Linked DNA regions of Homo sapiens: regions 1, 2, 3, 4, 5 and 7 are each linked to region 6. The links are contacts of gene promoters, found by promoter capture Hi-C in blood cells and fetal thymus (Javierre and others, 2016). All regions are on one chromosome and are shown on one strand. The core of a region is centred on a gene start or on the middle of the fragment in contact, and the rest is flanking DNA. Distances in the headings are between cores, read along the strand shown. Region 1 has its middle 17 kb from the start of PGK2. Region 2 overlaps MMUT (methylmalonyl-CoA mutase). Region 3 has its middle 21 kb from the start of PGK2. Region 4 has its middle 1.5 kb from the start of CRISP1. Region 5 has its middle 4.4 kb from the start of PGK2. Region 6 holds the start of RHAG (Rh associated glycoprotein). Region 7 has its middle 39 kb from the start of CRISP1.

Region 1 (2,888 bases), core at 272-2,771, 130 kb before region 6:
AACCATCATTCTCAGCAAACTATTGCAAGGACAAAAAACCAAACACTGCATGTTCTCACTCATACATGGGAATTGAACAATGAGAACACATGGACACAGGAAGGGGACCATCACACACCGGGGCCTGTTGTGGGGTGGGGGGAGGGGGGAGGGATAGCATTAGGAGATATACCTAATGCTAAATGACGAGTTAATGGGTGCAGCTCACCAACATGGCACATGTATACATATGTAACAAACCTGCACGTTGTGCACATGTACCCTAAAACTTAAAGTATAATAAAAAATAAAATAAAATAAAAATAAAAATTAAGCCAAATCAACATCAACATAACCTAAAACAAATAATAAAATAAAAATACTAATGATTTATGACTGTGGTCCAAAGAATCATGAGACTTTCAGATTGAAGAACATTATCAACAAGTGGGACAACAAGATTAGAACCATGTTCAACTGAAAAAAAAATAAGCCAACAAATATATGATTGACATGCACAAACTAACCTATTTTTTAATTTATTTCCTCACAGAATTTTTAATAACTAGAAATTATAATAATTCAATAAGTGGAGTAATAAATGTCATGAAATTAATTATATTCTGAAGACAAATTTGATTTCTCTTTTGTGGTCCCTCTGGTTCTTCAGATATTTTCATTTGGTAAAAACAAATTATGTAAGCAAAAACACTTTTTTTCTGATTATAAATATAATCCACACTATTTTCAAATGTGCAGTGAATACTACACATTAACAGCATGCTACTAATTAAACAATTCCTGGGAAAGCACAGAGTTTGAAAGCAAAATGTGAAAATGGTTTAATAGACTGTCAGACACCCTTCTACTGAATCTCTGATTCTACCATCCACATAGAGACAGATGAAACCAGGAAATAGGGAGATATTTTTAACTTCGCACTACACTACCTCCTTTTTGAAGTCATCGGCCCCTTCCAACTTTCTTACCACACAACACAGGTAGTCTTTTTGGAGTCAAGTACCATTTTCAATCTTCAATCATTTTCAATACTCTCCTCAACAGCAGATTACATAATTCCTCTACAACCTCTCAAATCACTGTTTTTTAAATCTGTCCTATATTCCCTACTGCCTCTTGAAGAACGTGGTCTCCAGGTTTATTTTAAATGCAAGTAACTTAAAGTATGCCTGAATATGTGCTAGAAATTCAGTATAGCAGATATAATTATTGTGAATCTTCACCAATTTCACCCCATATATACAGGATTGAAGAGCAATCTAAAGAGGAGAAATGGGTACTGGAGCCCATGTAGGTACCTATCTTGGCATGGGCAACATTTTCTGCATGTCACTGTAGACCCAGTTGGTCTCAGCCACAAGAATAGGACTTAGAAATTTTCAAGGGAATCATTCCAAAGTACAATAATCCACCGGGACCCAAATTACTGTCCAAGGAGTTATTTTATCAGTGCATTTATAGATAACATTGAGCTCATTTACAAGAAATTCTTACTTCCTTATTTTTTCAATTTATCAACCTTTAATTTGCTTTGTCATGTAATCGCAAATTCATTTAAGGTTATTTCCCTCTTTCTCTTATCATATACAAATATGTCTGGTCTCTAACTATACTAATCCTATTTTTTCTGGTGTCTGTCTATACTTCTGTTCTTTTATTTTCTATACTTCCTGTAAATAAGGGCTTGTGATGTTCTTATGTTGTTAAATACAAATCTATTCATAAAAAGAGGCTGTAAGTATCTGAGAATTTCATTACATTTTCTGGTGTAGTTGTAGAACAAAATTTTTGAATTAAAGTATATGTAACATATTACGAATTACTTTCATTTAATTTCTCTGTTAAATTATATATTATATATTATATATTATATTAACATCACTCTTTTAAAAAATGTTCAGTACTGTTCTTAGTATTATATTAGTTAATAACATAATATATAACATATATTACATAATATATAGTAACTCTCCATGGTTACTATAAAACGGGCATGGACTGTGTATCCATGTTAAGGGATGGATTAGAAAACAGATAATATATGTTATATATTATGTTATTAACATCAATCTTAAAAAAAAATGTTTAGCAAGCAGGGCCCCTGCCCCTATATCTGAATCTCAGGGGACTGCTTTTATTTAAAGTACCTTTCTTGAAAATATCTAAGTCTCCCTTCTGTGGCTGGGATAGGCTGGGGCCAGTGGTACTGTCCTAGAAGTGTGCTCCAAGCAAAGTCTAGGACTTGAGTGGCTATTAGTCTCCATTTCTCCCCCTTTGAGCTGCTGTCCAAATCTCTGCTCCATACATGGGATCTAGTTGCCCCCAAAGGCATCATGATTGAATCTATAGGTTGTCTCAGCCTTTGTGGCAAGGCCTCAGTTCCAAGTAGGCTGCCTGTGAGTGGATCACTCCCAACTGCCTGTGTGTGTGTGTGTGTGAGTGTGTGTGTGTGTGTGTTTTATCGGGATTAAATAATATTGGGCCACTAGGACTCTGCTTACTTGCTGATTTTAGGTAAGTCAAGTAGTTTAAATAAAAAGAGGCACCACAAAAACTATATTCTCAGGGCTTTGCACACTCTAGAAGTCAAGGATATATTATTATCCCTGCATTTATTTCCAGAATAATGTCTGTCAGGGAGTGGTATTTAAAATTTACGATAAGAAGAAAGCATTGGATCTGATAGGGTTGAGAACCACTATATCAGACTAATTATAGGGAGACATTACGTCTTATTACTGCAATCTTATCAAAGGTCATAGAATAGGAAGGAAGTTTCTGAGCATAGAGTCTCTATGGAGAACTTAAGCATTGCTCTTCTCTTCATAACAAGAATCCTAGCAACTCCCTTGCAAATGGAACCAAATCCTGGAAATTTACCAATTGTT
Region 2 (2,790 bases), core at 291-2,790, 180 kb after region 6:
TAACGACCCCATAATAAGTGTTGAGTATTGATTTCATTTAAGCTTTACTAAACTGATAGGTAAGAAGTGGTATGGAAAATAAAATTTGAAACTCCCTTTACTTGTTGCCTTATCCAGTATAAAACACATAGTATAGTGAATATATTAATGTTTGCATCTCAATATCTTTTTAAACAATGGGCTCTATATGTTTACGCTGTATGACTCTGACAAGTTTTAGTAATTCAGGTAAACAGTTTACGGCTTTGTGAGGTGGGATTTTGATCAAGCGACTTTATTTCTCTGAGCCTCAGTTTCTACATCTGGAAAATGATGACGCTGAACCCAGCAACCTAGTATAAAAGTCTATGCTAGTTATCCGGAATATGCAGCTCTAATGTTGGAGCAGTTTATAAACTAGCACAGAAGTAGATTATTGAAGAGGCCATTTAGCTCACCTTATGGGTTCTGGGATGAATTGTGTGCATATTAGTTAAATGCAAGGACTTTGAAACAGGCTGCATAGGTTCCAATCAATGCTGGCTCTTCTGTGCCTCAGTTTCCTAATCTGTAAAATAAGGATAATAATAGTACCTACCTCTTAGGGGTATTGTAAAGATTAAAATTGCTACTCTCTGTGATGTCTTTATAGCCTTCTATGTTACTGGCACATAGAAACGCTGCAAATTGGAGATAATGCCTTAGCTGAATTAGCCAGAGAAGAACATTTTAGGCAGAAGGAAGAGCAAGAGCAAATTCAGAAAACTTTGACATATGTGCAGCCAACTGTAGGTAATCCAGTATTTCTAGTGCACAAAATGCATAAAGAGGACAAAGACAGAGATGGGTCTGAGGGGGAAACAGAGACCAGTTCATGAAGGCCTTGAATGCCTGTTTGTCTTATTCATCACTTTTTTCTCTATTACCCAACATAATGTCGGTCATAAACTGATATTTAATAAAAGCACTTTGAATGAAAAAATTAATTAGGAGGCTGTAGTATATCTTCCACATGATACAGAGTCTTTGAAAAATTCCATGAGGAGTGTGACATAGTCATATTTACATTGATGTCATTGTATGGAAGGGATTCGTATAGAATGGAGTAGAAAAGGAGTAAGACTGGTCAGTAAGACCAGCTAAGAGGCTACTGAGGAAAAAGACTGAAACTACAGGACTGATAGTAATTGTGAAGAAGAGGGGCCAAAGTTATAAAATATCAGGTGCAGGAAGCAGAAAAGGGGAAGAAATGAAATCAGACTAATACATCCTCTTTCTTTTCTGTTCCTTTCTTATGAGTAGCTCCTATTTCCCACCCCCTCTTCTAAATGTTTTTACTCTATGTTTCTTTTTCTAGGTCAGTTCTTATTTCTATTGGGTGTTTCCATGCTCCACCATGTTAAGAGCTAAGAATCAGCTTTTTTTACTTTCACCTCATTACCTGAGGCAGGTAAAAGAATCATCAGGCTCCAGGCTCATACAGCAACGACTTCTACACCAGCAACAGCCCCTTCACCCAGAATGGGCTGCCCTGGCTAAAAAGCAGCTGAAAGGCAAAAACCCAGAAGACCTAATATGGCACACCCCGGAAGGGATCTCTATAAAACCCTTGTATTCCAAGAGAGATACTATGGACTTACCTGAAGAACTTCCAGGAGTGAAGCCATTCACACGTGGACCATATCCTACCATGTATACCTTTAGGCCCTGGACCATCCGCCAGTATGCTGGTTTTAGTACTGTGGAAGAAAGCAATAAGTTCTATAAGGACAACATTAAGGGTGAGATTTTAATGTAAGACATAATATTTATGATAAGTCATATGCCTCCTAGTTTTTTATTTTTTGGGGGTTAATCTCTGTAAAGATGATATTCACTCTATAATTTTGTAGTTAAAGACTATACTCTGAAAAAAGTGGATTTTTTTAACTTCTGTGGTCAAAAAGATAAGTGAATTAGAATAAGGTGCTAAATTTTTGAAAGAAAACAACACATGCACGTTGTTTAAAAGGAATTAGGTGAGGTAAAGTTGCATGAAGAAAAGAAGACATTAGCTTTGCCTTCGAAAAATGTTCAATTAACATTGTTGGGATAGCGATTGGAGAGGAAGATAGTTTAGATGATGCCCAAAGAAAGTGTAAATGTGATAACGTGGTACAAACATATTCAGTGCAACCTGGCATTCATTCACTGAAAATTATCTTAACTATTATTTCTTCTTTCTGAGCTGTAATAAAATTGTACTGTTTGAATACTAAACTTGTAGATTTATAAGTTTGTATTGCCCATGGAAGGTTGAACTTACATTTAGTATAGACTATTTTAGTTATTTAAAAATTTTGTACGATGGTCATAATTCTGTTTTCCAGAATATTTGAATAGCCAGGAATCCTTTGTGACCATATTAGATAAAAGAACAAAATAGTAAGCAAGCATACAAATGCTAAGTTATTTTTGCCATATATGAACAGCCAGATCTTTTCATGAATTTTAGAAATATTTCAATCAAGTACCATATCTTCAGATAGATACGAGATGATTGAGATTTGTTGTTTCTCCCATTCTTTCCTTTAGTGAGGTCTGGAACTAAATTTGTGCATTTTGGCACAAGGGAAACAACTGACTCTCTTAAGAAGTGAAGTATCTTTATTTAAGTTGGTTTTGACATGTATGAGCATAAAAATAGTTGTTATAAAAGTGTACTGTTATGAGATGAATCAACATTTTTAGTAGTGTTAAAAGTAAATCATTTTACCTTGATTCCAGACTCTTGAATCTTACATTATTTTTCTTTATATATTTAGCTGGTCA
Region 3 (2,734 bases), core at 180-2,679, 170 kb before region 6:
TATTTCCCTATTGCTTAATTTTGTCAGGTTTGTTAAAAATCAGATGGTAGTAGATGTGCAGTCTTATTTCTGAGTTCTCTATTCTGTTCCATTGGTCTATGTGTCTGTTTTTGTACTGATACCATGCTGTTTTGGTTACTGTAGCCTTGTAGTATAGTTTGAAGTTGGGTAGCATGATGCCTCCAGCTTTGTTCTTTTTGCTTAGGATTATCTTGGCTATATGAGCTCTTTTTCGGTTCCATAGTTTATTTCTAATTCTGTGAAGAATGTAAAATGGTAGTTAAATGGGAATAACATTTAATCTATAAATTACTTTGGGCAGTATGGCCATTTTCATGATACTGTTTCTTTTTATCCATGAGCATAAAATGATTTTCCATTTGTTTGTGTCCTCTCTGATTTCCCAGAGCAGTGGTTTGTAGTTCTCCTTGAAGAGGTCCTTCACTTCCCATGTTAGCTGTATTCCTAGGTATTTTATTCTCTTTGTAGCAATTGTAAATGGGAGCTCATTTATGATTTGGCTCTCCGCTTGCCTGTTCTTGATGTGTATAGGAATGGCAGCAATTTTTGCACATTGATTTTGTATCCTGGGACTGCTGAATTTCCTTATCAGCTTAAGAAGCTTTTGGGCTGAGACAATAGGGTTTCCTAGATATAGGATCATGTCATCTGCAAAGATAATTTGACTGTCTTTCTTTCCATTTGAATATGCTTTATTTCCTTCCCTTGCCAGATTGCCCTGGCCTGAACTTTCAAAACTATGTTGAATAGGAGTGGTGAGAGAGGGCATCCATGCCTTGTGCCAGTTTTCAAGAGGAATGCCTCCAGCTTTTGCCCACTCAGTATGATATTGGCTGTGGTTTTGTCATATATGGCTGTTATTATTTTGAGGTATGTGTACTAGTCCATTTTCATACTGCTACGAAGAAATATTCAAACTGGGTAATTTATAAAGAAAAAGAGGTTTAATGGACTCAGTTCCACATGACTGAGAAGGCCTCACAATTATTGCAGAAGGCCAAGGAGGAGCAAGGGCATATCTTATATGGTGGCAGGCAAGAGAGCATGTGCAGACACTCAATGTGAGCTCGTGAAAGCGGCTGGGAGAGGGGATGTACCCTGCAAAGTCACAGGGGCAGAGCTGCCCAAGGCCATGGAAGCCCACCTCTTGAATCAGCATGACCTGGATGTGAGACATGGAGTCAAAGGAAATCATTTTGAAACTTTAAGGGTTAATGACTGCCCATTTGTATTTCAAGAGAAGGTTGTTCAATTTCTACGTAGTTGTGTGGTTTTCAGTGAGTTTCTAATTTGATTGTGCTGTGGTCTGAGAGGCTGTTATGATTTTAGTTCTTTTGCATTTGCTGAGAAGTGTTTTGCTTCCAATTATGTGATCAATTTTAGAGTAAGTGCCATGTGGCAATGAGAAAACGTATATTCTGTTGAATTTGGGTGGAGAGTTCTGTAGATATCTATCAGGTGCACTTAATCCAGAACTGAATTCAGGTCCTGAATATCTTTGTTAATTTTCTGTCCCAATGATCTGTCTAATATTGTCAGTGGGGTATCAAAGGCTCCCACTATTATTGTGTAGAAGTCTAAGTCTCTTTGAAAGTCTCTAGGGACTTGCTCTGTGAGTCTGGGTGCTTATGTGTTGGGTGCATATATATTTAGGATAGTTAGCTCTTCTTGATGAATTGAACCCATTACCATTATGTAGTGCTCTTCTTTGTCTTTTTTGAATTTTGTTGGTTTAAAGTCTGTTTTGTCAGAAATTAGGATTGCAACCCCTGCTTTTTTCTGTTTTCCATTTGCTTCCTAAATTCTCCTCCATCCCTTTATTTTGAGCCTTTGTGTGTGTTTGCACATGAGGTGAGATGGGTCTCTTGAATACATCGCACTGATGGGTCTTGACTGTTTATCCAGTTTGCCATTCTGTGTCTTTTAATTGTGGCATTTAGCCCATTTACATACAAGGTTAGTATTGTTATGTGTTAATTTGTTCCTGTCACCATGATGCTAGCTGGTTATTTTGCAGACTTATTTATGCAGTTGCTTCATAGTGTCATTGTCTGTGTACTTCAGTGTGTTTTTGTAGTGGATGGTAACAGTTTTTCTATTCCATATTTAGTGCTTCCTTCAGGAGCTCTTACAAGGCAGGCCTGGTGGTGATGGACTTCCTCAGCATTTGCTTGTCTGAAAACAATCTTATTTCTCCTTCACTTAGGAAGCTTAGTTTGGCCAGACACAAAATTCTGGGTTGGACATTCTTTTACTTCAGAATGTTGAATATTGGCCCCCAATCTCTTCTGGCTTACAGAGTTTCTGCTGAGAGGTCTGCTGTTAGTCTGATGGGTTTCCGTTTGTAGGTGACCTAGCCTTTCTCTTTGGCTGCCCTTAACATTTTTTCTTTCATTTCAACCGTGGAGAATCTGAGAATTAGGTGTCTTGGGGTTGATCTCATGGAGTATCTTACCGGACTTCTCTGGATTTCCTGAATTTGAATGTTGGCCTGTCTTGCTAGGTTGAAGTCCTCCTGGATGATATCCTGAAGTATGTTTTCCAACTTGGTTTTGTTCTCCCCGTCTCTTTCAGGTACTCCAATCAGTCATAGGTTTTTTTTTTTTTTTTTTTTTTTACATAATCTCATATTTCTCAGAGGTTTTGTTCATGTCTTTTCATTCTTTTTTCTCTATTCTTTTCTGCTTGTCTTATTTCAGAAAGACAGTCTTCA
Region 4 (2,700 bases), core at 63-2,562, 230 kb before region 6:
TTATAAGGATAATCAGAAGCCCTGTGGAAAGGCCAATCTGGAGAGCAACTAGGGCTTCGCACCAACAAACAGCACCAACTTGCAAGTCATATAAGTAAATCAATTTGGAAGCAGGAAAGCCATCAGAGATATAAATGTCTGCAGCCTCAACTGACAACTGATTGCAATCAATGAGGCACCATAAACCAAATGTGCTCAGTCAAGCCATCCTTGAATTACTGATTCCCAGAAACCAAGAGACCACATTTATTGCTTTAAATCATTGAGCCTTGGGATTATTTATTATGAGAAGTAGACAACTAAAACAAAGTTGAATAGAAGGATAAATGTATATTGACTTTCATTCTGATTATGAAAGCTATAAATTGTAGAAGAAGAGGGGGGAAATTTCAAAGGGCCATTAATCTCCCAGGGTTCTTAAAATTCAAATTCAGAAACTGACTTTGGCTTTATTTTATGTGCAACATAAGTTTGAATTTGTTAAAGTCTAGAGTACTTTTTGGCCTGAGTTTCTGAGCAAGTCTGGAGTCATTGAGCCCTTGCAACATACAGGACTTTGAAGCATAAGCACAATTTTACTGAGTGGTATGAAGAAGCAATGAGACACAAATGGGATTGTTGTAGGTAAGAGTTCAGTCATGGAGAAAGTGAAGGGAAAGGAGAGGATGTCTGTGTCCAGTGGATAATTAGAATAAAGCCACAGCCAGAATATATGCAAAATTATTTTACAAATATGATTTTAAAATCACATTTAACACATGAATGCTTCCTTCAACATGTATTATATATCTGGGCTTTCTAAAATTTTTGTTAGCCAATCTCTGAGTAAATGATTGATTTAAAGTTTCTTTTAAAAATGGATATATTCAGACAAACATGATGTGATTGTAAACACATTAGCCTTTATCTATCTCTCAAGATTTTTCTGGGATAATCCAGTTAGAAATATTCTATCATGTTATGATATGCTAGATAAATGTGTCAGATTATTATTTTAGGGAAAAAAGTTATTGTAGATAGTTTCCTACTATGCTAAAAAGCTTAAACAGAAAGAGAACAATCTATGAAAATAGGAAATTTATGAACAGAAACAGCCAACTGGCACCCATGTTTGGGACTCACATGCAAATCAAGTTATTCCTTGCTTTCCAACACTTCCCAAATTCTTTTAAAACCATATATGAAGCTGGATAGCAACTCTATATGAAGACATCAGTGCTATAAATACAGACAGCATTGTGTTGGGTAGAGCAATGCCAGGAATTGCCAGGACCAACAGATAAAACCAGAGCAATTAAGTTTCCATAAACACTTGACTTGATGTTGAATCAACACTCTCCTTTATAAACAGCAGTTTAGCAAGAAATAAATGACAATTATACATTTCTAATATATAAACCATGCTGGTTTGGTGAAGTAATAGCATTCTTTTGCAGCTTTCTTTTTACAATGTAGTTTGTTGGAGAAAGTTGCTCAATAATTTGGAAGTGTTAATTTCAAGATCATGTAAAATTCTTTAAAGCCAATTAAAGTTAAGCTAAAGATAATTCATCTTATCTATGAAAGAGTTTACAGATAAGCTTTTCTATGTTTTTAGATTAACACCATCTCCCTCAACCAAAAGAGAAATTCTTCTAGGTATAGGTGAGCAATTTTTAGTGATGTTTAGTTCTCCTTTCCTGCAGATGGTTTTCTGGACATTCATTATATACTTTAACAAGACCAGAAAGTTCTATCTTAAGAGACTCTGATCTTTCTTTTAATTTTTATTTCCTAACCCTCACCCCAGAACTAACACAAAATAACTTATGACTACACAATTCTTACCTTATTTTTACTCTTTCCTTTTAGATATTCAATTGCCCTTTCTTAAGCAAGATACAAGAAAAATATTTTTTATTAAATAATAATGTATTCTTTCTTACAAAGAACAAAGACTTAATTCATAATTTTAAAAAGAGGCCAGCAAGCTATGACTTCAATATAAGCGACCATGCACTCACATATACAAACATTTCCCAACTTTTCAGAATAATAAGACAATTCAAAAACATCTGATTACACCTAGTTTCAGAGTAAATTTTCTATTCTCATATGTGATTTCTGTCTGTGTGATATTTCTTTCTTTGTTCTAAGTGTCCTGTGATATTTCTCATCATGTGACTCAAATGATTTCTGGAATTTTTAGTGTTTTACAATTTAGTGTTCAGTATTTCTAGACCTCTCAAGGTAGTTAGTTGCTTCCACATTGTTTCTGGACAAATCTCTATTAGAATTCTCCCAAATTGCAGAAGTTTTCCTTTTAACCAGGAAGGTCTTAGGAAAATGGACTACTTATCTTTTCATTCCCAGAGCCTCTCCAAGTATGTGACACATTATAGAACAGTTACCAAACTCCATAAGATTGTGTAGTTTATATGTTTGGTGATTCTATGTATCCTCAGCATCTAGAAGAGAGCATAAATCATCTTAAGACCTCAATAAATAATTACTGAATGAATTTAATAAAGTTGAGAAGTTTCTGGACCAGCAAGTCATTTTCCCTTACAGTGACCTTTGTTATCTGATTGTGGCTCTGCTGAATCATGCAACTAATCTTTGCAGTTAGTTCCCAGGGTAAAAGTTTAAAATTGGTGAGTTCCATTGATGATGTTGCCTTGGTTACAAACTAGAAATGTCCCCATAATCATGATTTGTAAT
Region 5 (2,700 bases), core at 191-2,690, 150 kb before region 6:
TCAATACCAGCCCCATCAAGCTACCAATGACTTTCTTCACAGAATTGGAAAAAACTACTTTAAAGTTCATGTGGAACCAAAAAAGAGCCCGCATTGCCAAGTCAATCCTAAGCCAAAAGAACAAAGCTGGAGGCATCACACTACCTGACTTCAAACTATACTACAAGGCTACAGTAACCAAAACAGCATGGTACTGGTACCAAAACAGAGATGTAGATCAATGGAACAGAACAGAGCCCTCAGAAATAACGCCGCATATCTACAACTATCTGATCTTTGACAAACCTGAGAAAAGCAATGGGGAAAGGATTCCCTATTTAATAAATGGTGCTGGGAAAACTGGCTAGCCATATGTAGAAAGCTGAAACTGGATCCCTTCCTTACACCTTATACAAAAATTAATTCAAGATGGGTTAAAGACTTAAACGTTAGACCTAATACCATAAAAACCCTAGAAGAAAACCTAGGCATTACCATTCAGGACATAGGCATGGGCAAGGACTTCATGTCTAAAACACCAAAAGCAATGGCAACAAAAGACAAAATTGACAAATGGGGTCTCATTAAACTAAAGAGCTTCTGCACAGCAAAAGAAACTACCATCAGAGTGAACAGGCAACCTACAAAATGGGAGAAAATTTTTGCAACCTACTCATCTGACAAAGGGCTAATATCCAGAATCTACAATGAACTCAAACAAATTTACAAGAAAAAAACAAACAACCCCATCAAAAAGTGGGCAAAGGACATGAACAGACACTTCTCAAAAGAAGACATTTATGCAGCCAAAAAACACATGAAAAAATGCTCACCATCACTGGTCATTAGAGAAATGCAAATCAAAACCACAATGAGATACCATTTCACACCAGTTAGAATGGCAATCATTAAAAAGGCAGGAAACAACAGGTGCTGGAGAGGATGTGGAGAAATAGGAACACTTTTACACTGTTGGTGGGACTGTAAGCTAGTTCAACCATTGTGGAAGTCAGTGTGGCGATTCCTCAGGGATCCAGAACTAGAAATACCATTTGACCCAGCCATCCCATTACTGGGTATATACCCAAAGGACTATAAATCATGCTGCTATAAAGACACATGCACACATATGTTTATTGCGGCATTATTCACAATAGCAAAGACTTGGAACCAACCCAAATGTCCAACAATGATAGACTGGATTAAGATAATGTGGCACATATACACCATGAATACTATGCAGCCATAAAAAATGATGAGTTCATGTCCTTTGTAGGGACATGGATGAAATTGGAAATCATCATTCTCAGTAAACTATCACAAGAACAAAAAACCAAATACCGCATATTCTCACTCATAGGTGGGAATTGAACAATGAGAACACATGAACACAGGAAGGGGAACATCACACTCTGGAGACTGTTGTGGGGTGGGGGCAGGGGGGAGGGATAGCATTGGGAGATATACCTAATGCTAGATGACGAGTTAGTGGGTGCAGTGCACCAGCATAGCATATGTATACATATGTAACTAACCTGCACATTGTGCACATGTACCCTAAAACTTAAAGTATAATAATAATAATAATAATAATAAAGAAAAAAAAGAAGAATAGATAAGTAGATGGAGGAACAAATGCAAAAAAGTATACTTTAAAAGAAATGCATTGGCTAATTCATACATAATGTTATCGTGTGAATTATTATGTTGTTTTCAAACTAATTCTGCACTGTGTAAAAAGTTATATATTAGGTTGACGCAAGAGTAGCGGTTTTCGCCATTGAAAGGGAGAGATAGCACCATACAGCCACCTTAGTCTACCTTTTACAATGATCCCAAAAACTCATGGAAACATTTTCAAATGCATAAATTGAAGTTTGCTGCTATTATTAATAGGGACATTTACAAATTCATAAACAATTTAAAAATTGTTTTTAAATTGTTAAAAGAAGGATTGGTGTGTTTCGAAATATTAAAAATTAGTGACTAAAATGACACAATATGTACATGAGAATATACATACCTATAGATTATTAGTCATTTCAGCACCCAGAACTCTGCATAACGTATGGAATATATATTTGCATATTTTACAATCATTGTCAATGGAAAGGTGAATTGAAGGTAAACTGCCCCAAATATTTCACAGGCTTCCTAATAGAAAGAATAATAGATTATATCCATAACATGTTTCAATTTTCAAAGAAAATGGATAACCTATAATGAAATCTTTCCATCATAGACTTTAATCAGTCACCACCATGAGCAAATACTAGTAGCTAAGTAAGCAGCCCTTAAAAGACCTGGAGAGAAACAGAGGACATTTGCATAAAGAAAACCTGGAAAACCTGTCCAAGAACAGGAGAACGTAGAGACATTGATACTGTGAACATAGATGAAAACTGGATTTAGTCAAGAAGACATTTCAGCCTCTATGTGGGATGATACGTGGTAACAGGATTTTAATTTTGAAAGACAAGGTCCTCAGAGCTTGATGCTGTTACATGAAGACAGATCTTGGGGAAGTGGTGACAAAATGCCCTTGTGGTTTAGCTCAGTGCAGAGCACACTGCAAATCTTCTTTACAGAAAGGTGCCAAAACAGAAGAGTATATTTTCCTTTTGGGTCTTTCAAATCTAGTATTTGTAAATCATGGTGAATAGTAATTTGAATACTCAGAATCTATTTATCACTACATTCAAACAGTCCATTAAGCTCCAC
Region 6 (2,872 bases), core at 226-2,725:
ATTAACATATACACTTTTCATTTAGGATTTGTTGGAGTTCTCATGAACACTCTTTAGGCTGCTGCAAAACCAAAAATTAAAGTGTGAGATGTACACATGTATTTTCATAGCTAAGCATGTGAACCCACTCCTCTTGTACTATGCTGTAACGAATAATGGAAATAGTCATTTTTCAAAGTGTCTGTATATTTATAAAATTTCAAATATCACTTAGTCCTAACATATCATGTTCTACTGTGGAAAATCATACCAGAAAGACCAAAAAATCCTGCTGCTTTGTTTTATAAATATTTATTACAATGTATGTATCCTGGCAGTCAGTTGCACTCTCTCTCCAAATTCTGCATAGAATCTTTTGGAAATTGGGCTTCATGAAAGAAATTGTATTTAACTGGTAGCTCTTAGTTCTCAAAAACAGGTTTATTCTGCCATGAGAACAATTCCAAAGAGGAGACAAGAATTCCTCCACCTATATGGTAGTTTTGAATTGCTTAGCATCTTATTTACACTTGACTATCTATAAGGATGATAGATTAGTTATGTTCCTGTTTAAGTTTACTCTCTTCCTATTTAAGACTAAAAGATATATCACAACTCATTTGTGTATTTCCATATTTTCACTTGCGTAAATCAGAGTAAGGAGTCAAAAACTTCATAAGTACATAAAACTGCTTACAGTCCTATATATTCCCCATTGCTCATGGGATAATATTTAGCATCTAGCATCCTCGGTACTGAATGTGAGGGTCTTTACAACACAGCCACCTCCATGACAACATTATCTCTGCCACTTCCTCCTTTTCTCTTCATCTCTTTTACATTCCAGCTTTGCTTGACTGATTGCCGTTTCCAAAACATGCCATGTTCTTCCAAGATTTATATCATTCCCTCTTATCTGTTTTACTTGAAAAACCCTATTTATGTTCTAGTTCTCACATCCATATTGTTTTATATGCTAATGTTCTTGGCCTAAGGCAAAAAGTTTCACTGCCTTATTTATGTTTTATAATACTTTTATAACCACTATTATATCACATATTTGTTTTTATATAATCATTCACTTATATTTATGTTTTCCCAACTAGATTCTTAATTTTCTCAAGAAGTTAACAGACCAATTATATATATTGCTTTAGATTCATGCCTTCTACAAAGCCTACCACAATATTTGGTATACAATAAGCCCTCAAGAAATGTCTACTGAATTAAGTTAAACATGATTCTAGAGGCCTGTGCAATAGATTGTTGGCATCATCCAGGTTCTCACAATTTCATTGCATATTCTTCAGATCAACATTTAGAACGACAATTAGATTACAGAGCATAATTTTCCCCAATGGGTGGGGCATTTTAATCAGTCTTGCCCATTTTTTTTTTCTTGTGATGTCATTGGGGTGCCTTGAACATGCAGTCAAATTCCACACACAGAGCAGTCCTTTGTTCTTATCAACATCTCACAGCCTGTGAAGCTCTCAGTGTGCCTCTGTCCTTTGCCACAAACATGAGGTTCACATTCCCTCTCATGGCTATAGTCCTGGAAATTGCCATGATTGTTTTATTTGGATTATTTGTTGAGTATGAAACGGACCAGACTGTTCTCGAGCAGCTCAACATCACCAAGCCAACAGACATGGGCATATTCTTTGAGTTATATCCTCGTGAGTAGGCAATTTACTACTTACTATACATTTTTCGGTTCTTCGGTTTCTCAGAATGTAAAACAATTGAATACTATAAACCCTTGAGCTCTTTGTAGAATTATATGATGGTTATGAGTGCTAAGGATATTACATGTTTGTGATGTGACATCTGGTCTTCTTCTCTGTGATTAAGGTGCTTGGTTGGAACTTTTTCCTATTAAAATATCAGAACAAGAAGCTGAAAATTAAAATAATTGATGCCTTTTGTATTGCTTATCTACTGCTAAATGACCTTTTTCCTTCAGTTGGTCACTAGTTCTGCAAAGAAAAGTATCACGCTTCCTTTGCATTCCCCACTGAAAGGGCCAAAGGTAACTTTGGAGGAGAGAGAGTTCTAAGAATGGAGTTATAAGAAGGGAACCCTAGATTTCATGTGAGGACCCTAAGGAATAAGAAGGGGTATTTAGTATGATGTAGGAAGTTAATGGAGTTTTAATCAAAAAAGTGTACTCAGAGTTTTACAATATTCTGAAAGGAAGTCGGTTTGTTACTTTGAGATGAAAAGAAATGTGTGAATACTTAACATATTTTAAAAACAAAATCCTTCCTTGGGAATGATGATTGAGCAAAGAGAGAAATTTAATTCAAGTTTGGAAGGGTAGGCTGTAAAATAGTTAATATAACAATAACTACCATTTACTGCGTCCTTATTATAAACCAACACATCCATTACCTCATTAGCCAGGAAGGAAGACAGTAGTATGTCACTATTATATAGACTATTTGCTTTTCTTAAGTAAGGTTCAAATAATCTAAAAAATTTAAAAATTATTTAAAATGGTATAATGTTTATTATACTTCATAGCATATGTCTAAGCTTTTTAAAAAACAATTTGACACCCTTTTTTTTATTCCAACATTTTTTGAGGGAATTAATATGATGGGGGTATTCCCATGTAGAAATAATGGCCTAGAGTTGCTAAGTGACATAGGAAAAATATAAAATTGAAAGCTAAGGACAGAGTTAGGGTAATAAGACAGAGAAAACTAGACTCCAAGTCTAGCTGTCTTTACACTGCATAGATGTCTGAGAGGGTTCTTGATTAAATAAGTTTTATAGTTTGCAAGTTAGAGAATAAAACAGAAAAAATTCTGTTCATCTATGTATGCTTTTGTACATTTCATTCATTCATCCATTTATTCATTTAGTACATATTTTATTAAGCACTAAG
Region 7 (2,700 bases), core at 171-2,670, 190 kb before region 6:
CTCTCCACCATTTTCTCTCTTTGTGCTTTTTAAAATTATTAGTATATTTAGGCTCAAGTTGGCCTTATATTATTTATTTTCATTTGTTTCTCTGTTTGTTGTTCCTCTGTTTCTCTTTTCTTGCCTTCCTGTGAGTTATTTGCACATTTTTAATGTGTTTTAATTTTAATGTGTGTATCACTTTGTATAGTTTCTCCTAGTGGTTACTCTACATATATATGTGTGTGTGTGTGTACTATATATATACTTAAATTATCAGTCTACTTGTATTGATATTTTGTCACTTAGAGTGAAGGGTAGAAACCTCACTTTTATTTAGGTACCTTTCCCTCCCACTTTAACAATATATTTATACTAAGTACTAACTTTACATATACTAAACATCACCATGTGTGGTGTAACAATTTTCGCTTCAACCAACAAATATTTTAAGAAAATCATGAAGAGAAAAGTCTCTTGTATTTAACTCTCATTTTTATCCATTCTGATATTTTCTTTTCTGAATTTTTAAAACTTCTCTTATCATCTCTTTTAATTTTTATCTAGAGAACATCCTTTAGCCTTCCTTTAAGAGTAGGCTTACAAATAAATTATCTGACTGTTCTTTATGTGAGAATGCCTTTATTTTCCCTTTATTCCTGAAGTATACTTTCACCGGATATAGGATTCAGGATTAATCATTTTTTTAAGCATTTGTAAAGCACGCCACTCTCTTCTGAACTCTGTGGTTTCAGAAGAGAAATCTACTGTCACTAAAATTGTTATTCCTCCATAGTTATATATTGTTTCTCTCTATTAAATTTTTTCATTGGCTTTAATTTTTCAGAAGTTTGTAAGGTGTTATGGCCCCTGTGCTGAGTTCTACTGAAGCCATTCCAAGCATTTTGTGGACAGTCTTTTCATTGTCTGTCTGGAGTCAGACAGTTATGGCTAAAAATTTTTTTCTTTTTTATTATTTCACCCTTCTTAACCCTTTGGCTGAGTTGAGCAGGCTTCCCTTGTTCTGTTTCGGTTTGTTTGTTTTAATTTTTGTCTGATCCTGTTAGTGGTTCTGGGGTTGAGACTTCTGCAGTGCTCTGTCTAGTATATATGGGAAGCAAAAAGGAAACTCAGAGAAGTCATTTTCATGCTGATACTCAAGTCCAAGGTCCTTACACAGTCTGCTTTCTTAGTTTCACTTCTAGAGTCTTCCTATGCTTGTTTGTTATGTATGCTCAAGTTTTTCAGTTTTAAGAAGGAGGACCTGAGAGAATGTGGCTCCTCTATCTTGGCCATTACCCTACCACTAAGTGAACCTGCATTTTTTTGCTTGAATGAATTAAGATTTTGCTTAAGTTCGCCGTGTAGCAGGTCAATTATCTACAGATGCAAGAAAACAGAGGTTTCCTGACCTGCTATATATATCACAAGCAATTCTTCTAATTGGTGGGGCTTTAAAATCTGGGTAAAAAGTTCTTCACTGTGGTTCAGGGCTATGAAACATATTTGTAAGCTGACAAATCACTATGGCATATGGTATGTGTAAACCCTCTCGATAGAAAAAATTCTGTCAAGAAGTTGCTCTCAACTGAACAATAAAGAACTAAACGTTTGAGGCATCCTTTTATTAGTATTGTCTATTTCTATTTGTTATGAATCTTTGTTATTTTCTTTAAAACAATTATTACTCTGTCAAGCGCATTTGCAAACTACTTATATGGAATGTTATAGTTCAGCATCTATACTGTATAAAAATTGCAAATATACGAAGAAGAAGCACCTACAGTATGTGATCATTCGCGAGTCAAGCTCCTGCTTTTCAGTTGCCTTCAGAAAATTCTAAAATGCTGAAGGTAGCGTATTTATTGATGGTACCACTAATATAAATATGGACACAGTCTATTGGAAAAGATAACTTAAAAGATAAAACAATGCCACAAAGAAACAACAAAGGATTTCTCCAGTATAATCTGAACCATGGTAATATTTTCAACAAGCAATATCTAATAATATCTGTTTAATGCACAAACCATTTTGTTTTGAACAAATACAAGTAATTTGAGCTTTTTTTAAATATGGTCATAAGTTACCCATTTGCTATTAATTGTATATTAATATTCATCTTTCAGGTTTTCACCTCCTTTAGTAGTCTTCATCTGTTTGTTAAAAATGTCTTAACTTTTCTTCCATAAACCCCTTTACATGAGCATGTACTCGTAGAAACTCCTGGACCTGCAGTTTTCTTTGCTCCTGAATTCTTTCCTACAACATATTTCATATATTATAATATTTTTAAAAATAATTTAGGTTAGCTGAGGATCTATTTTTCTACTTTTCCCCTTACAGTAAGATAATTTATCAAATATTATTTACCCTATAAACTATTTTCTCTTTTCATTTATTTATTTATTTGATTTTTATGTTTTGTGTATATATAGTAGGTGTCTATATTTATGGGGTACATAAGATGTTTTGATACAGACATGCAATGTCAAATAAGCACATCATGGAGAATGGGGTATTCATCTCCTCAAGCATTTATCCTTTGAGTTACAAACAATCCAATTACACTCTTTTAAATTATCTTAAAATGTACAATTATTATTGACTATAGTCACTCTATTGTGCTATCAAACAGTAGGACTTATTCATTCTTTCTAGCTATTTTTGTACCCATTAACCACCCCTACCTGCTCCCCAACCCCCAACTACCCTACGCAG

Evidence for each region. Contacts are between HindIII fragments. The CHiCAGO score rates a contact against its expected background, and 5 or more counts as called.
Region 1: a fragment that was not itself captured here is called in contact with the fragment with the promoter of RHAG in region 6 in 2 of 17 cell types (erythroblasts and megakaryocytes); the score reaches 23.9 in erythroblasts.
Region 2: a fragment that was not itself captured here is called in contact with the fragment with the promoter of RHAG in region 6 in 1 of 17 cell types (erythroblasts); the score reaches 5.3 in erythroblasts.
Region 3: a contact is called between a fragment that was not itself captured here and the fragment with the promoter of RHAG in region 6, in 2 of 17 cell types (erythroblasts and megakaryocytes). The highest score is 10.4, in erythroblasts.
Region 4: a contact is called between a fragment that was not itself captured here and the fragment with the promoter of RHAG in region 6, in 3 of 17 cell types (megakaryocytes, erythroblasts and endothelial precursors). The highest score is 13.2, in megakaryocytes.
Region 5: a fragment that was not itself captured here is called in contact with the fragment with the promoter of RHAG in region 6 in 2 of 17 cell types (erythroblasts and megakaryocytes); the score reaches 8.8 in erythroblasts.
Region 7: a contact is called between a fragment that was not itself captured here and the fragment with the promoter of RHAG in region 6, in 2 of 17 cell types (erythroblasts and megakaryocytes). The highest score is 29.6, in erythroblasts.

The regions. Positions count from the first base shown.
Region 1 is chr6:49,768,624-49,771,511 of GRCh38, reverse strand. No RefSeq gene overlaps it. Among named protein-coding and RNA genes, the nearest start is that of PGK2, 17 kb to the left of the region's middle. The HindIII fragment of the contact is 4,649 bases long and covers 1-2,888 here.
Region 2 is chr6:49,458,052-49,460,841 of GRCh38, reverse strand. It overlaps MMUT (methylmalonyl-CoA mutase), which reads left to right. Exons shown (of 13, transcript NM_000255.4): 2 at 1,337-1,760; 3 at 2,784-2,790. The coding sequence starts at 1,376. Among named protein-coding and RNA genes, the nearest start is that of MMUT, 3.8 kb to the left of the region's middle. The HindIII fragment of the contact is 2,992 bases long and covers 45-2,790 here.
Region 3 is chr6:49,806,899-49,809,632 of GRCh38, reverse strand. No RefSeq gene overlaps it. Among named protein-coding and RNA genes, the nearest start is that of PGK2, 21 kb to the right of the region's middle. The HindIII fragment of the contact is 1,609 bases long and covers 625-2,233 here.
Region 4 is chr6:49,866,639-49,869,338 of GRCh38, reverse strand. It overlaps a transcript of CRISP1 not described here. Among named protein-coding and RNA genes, the nearest start is that of CRISP1, 1.5 kb to the right of the region's middle. The HindIII fragment of the contact is 540 bases long and covers 1,043-1,582 here.
Region 5 is chr6:49,790,353-49,793,052 of GRCh38, reverse strand. No RefSeq gene overlaps it. Among named protein-coding and RNA genes, the nearest start is that of PGK2, 4.4 kb to the right of the region's middle. The HindIII fragment of the contact is 4,478 bases long and covers 1-2,700 here.
Region 6 is chr6:49,635,442-49,638,313 of GRCh38, reverse strand. RHAG (Rh associated glycoprotein) reads left to right here and starts at 1,475. Exons shown (of 10, transcript NM_000324.3): 1 at 1,475-1,658. The coding sequence starts at 1,502. The HindIII fragment of the contact is 2,886 bases long and covers 1-2,519 here.
Region 7 is chr6:49,825,703-49,828,402 of GRCh38, reverse strand. No RefSeq gene overlaps it. Among named protein-coding and RNA genes, the nearest start is that of CRISP1, 39 kb to the left of the region's middle. The HindIII fragment of the contact is 2,934 bases long and covers 1-2,700 here.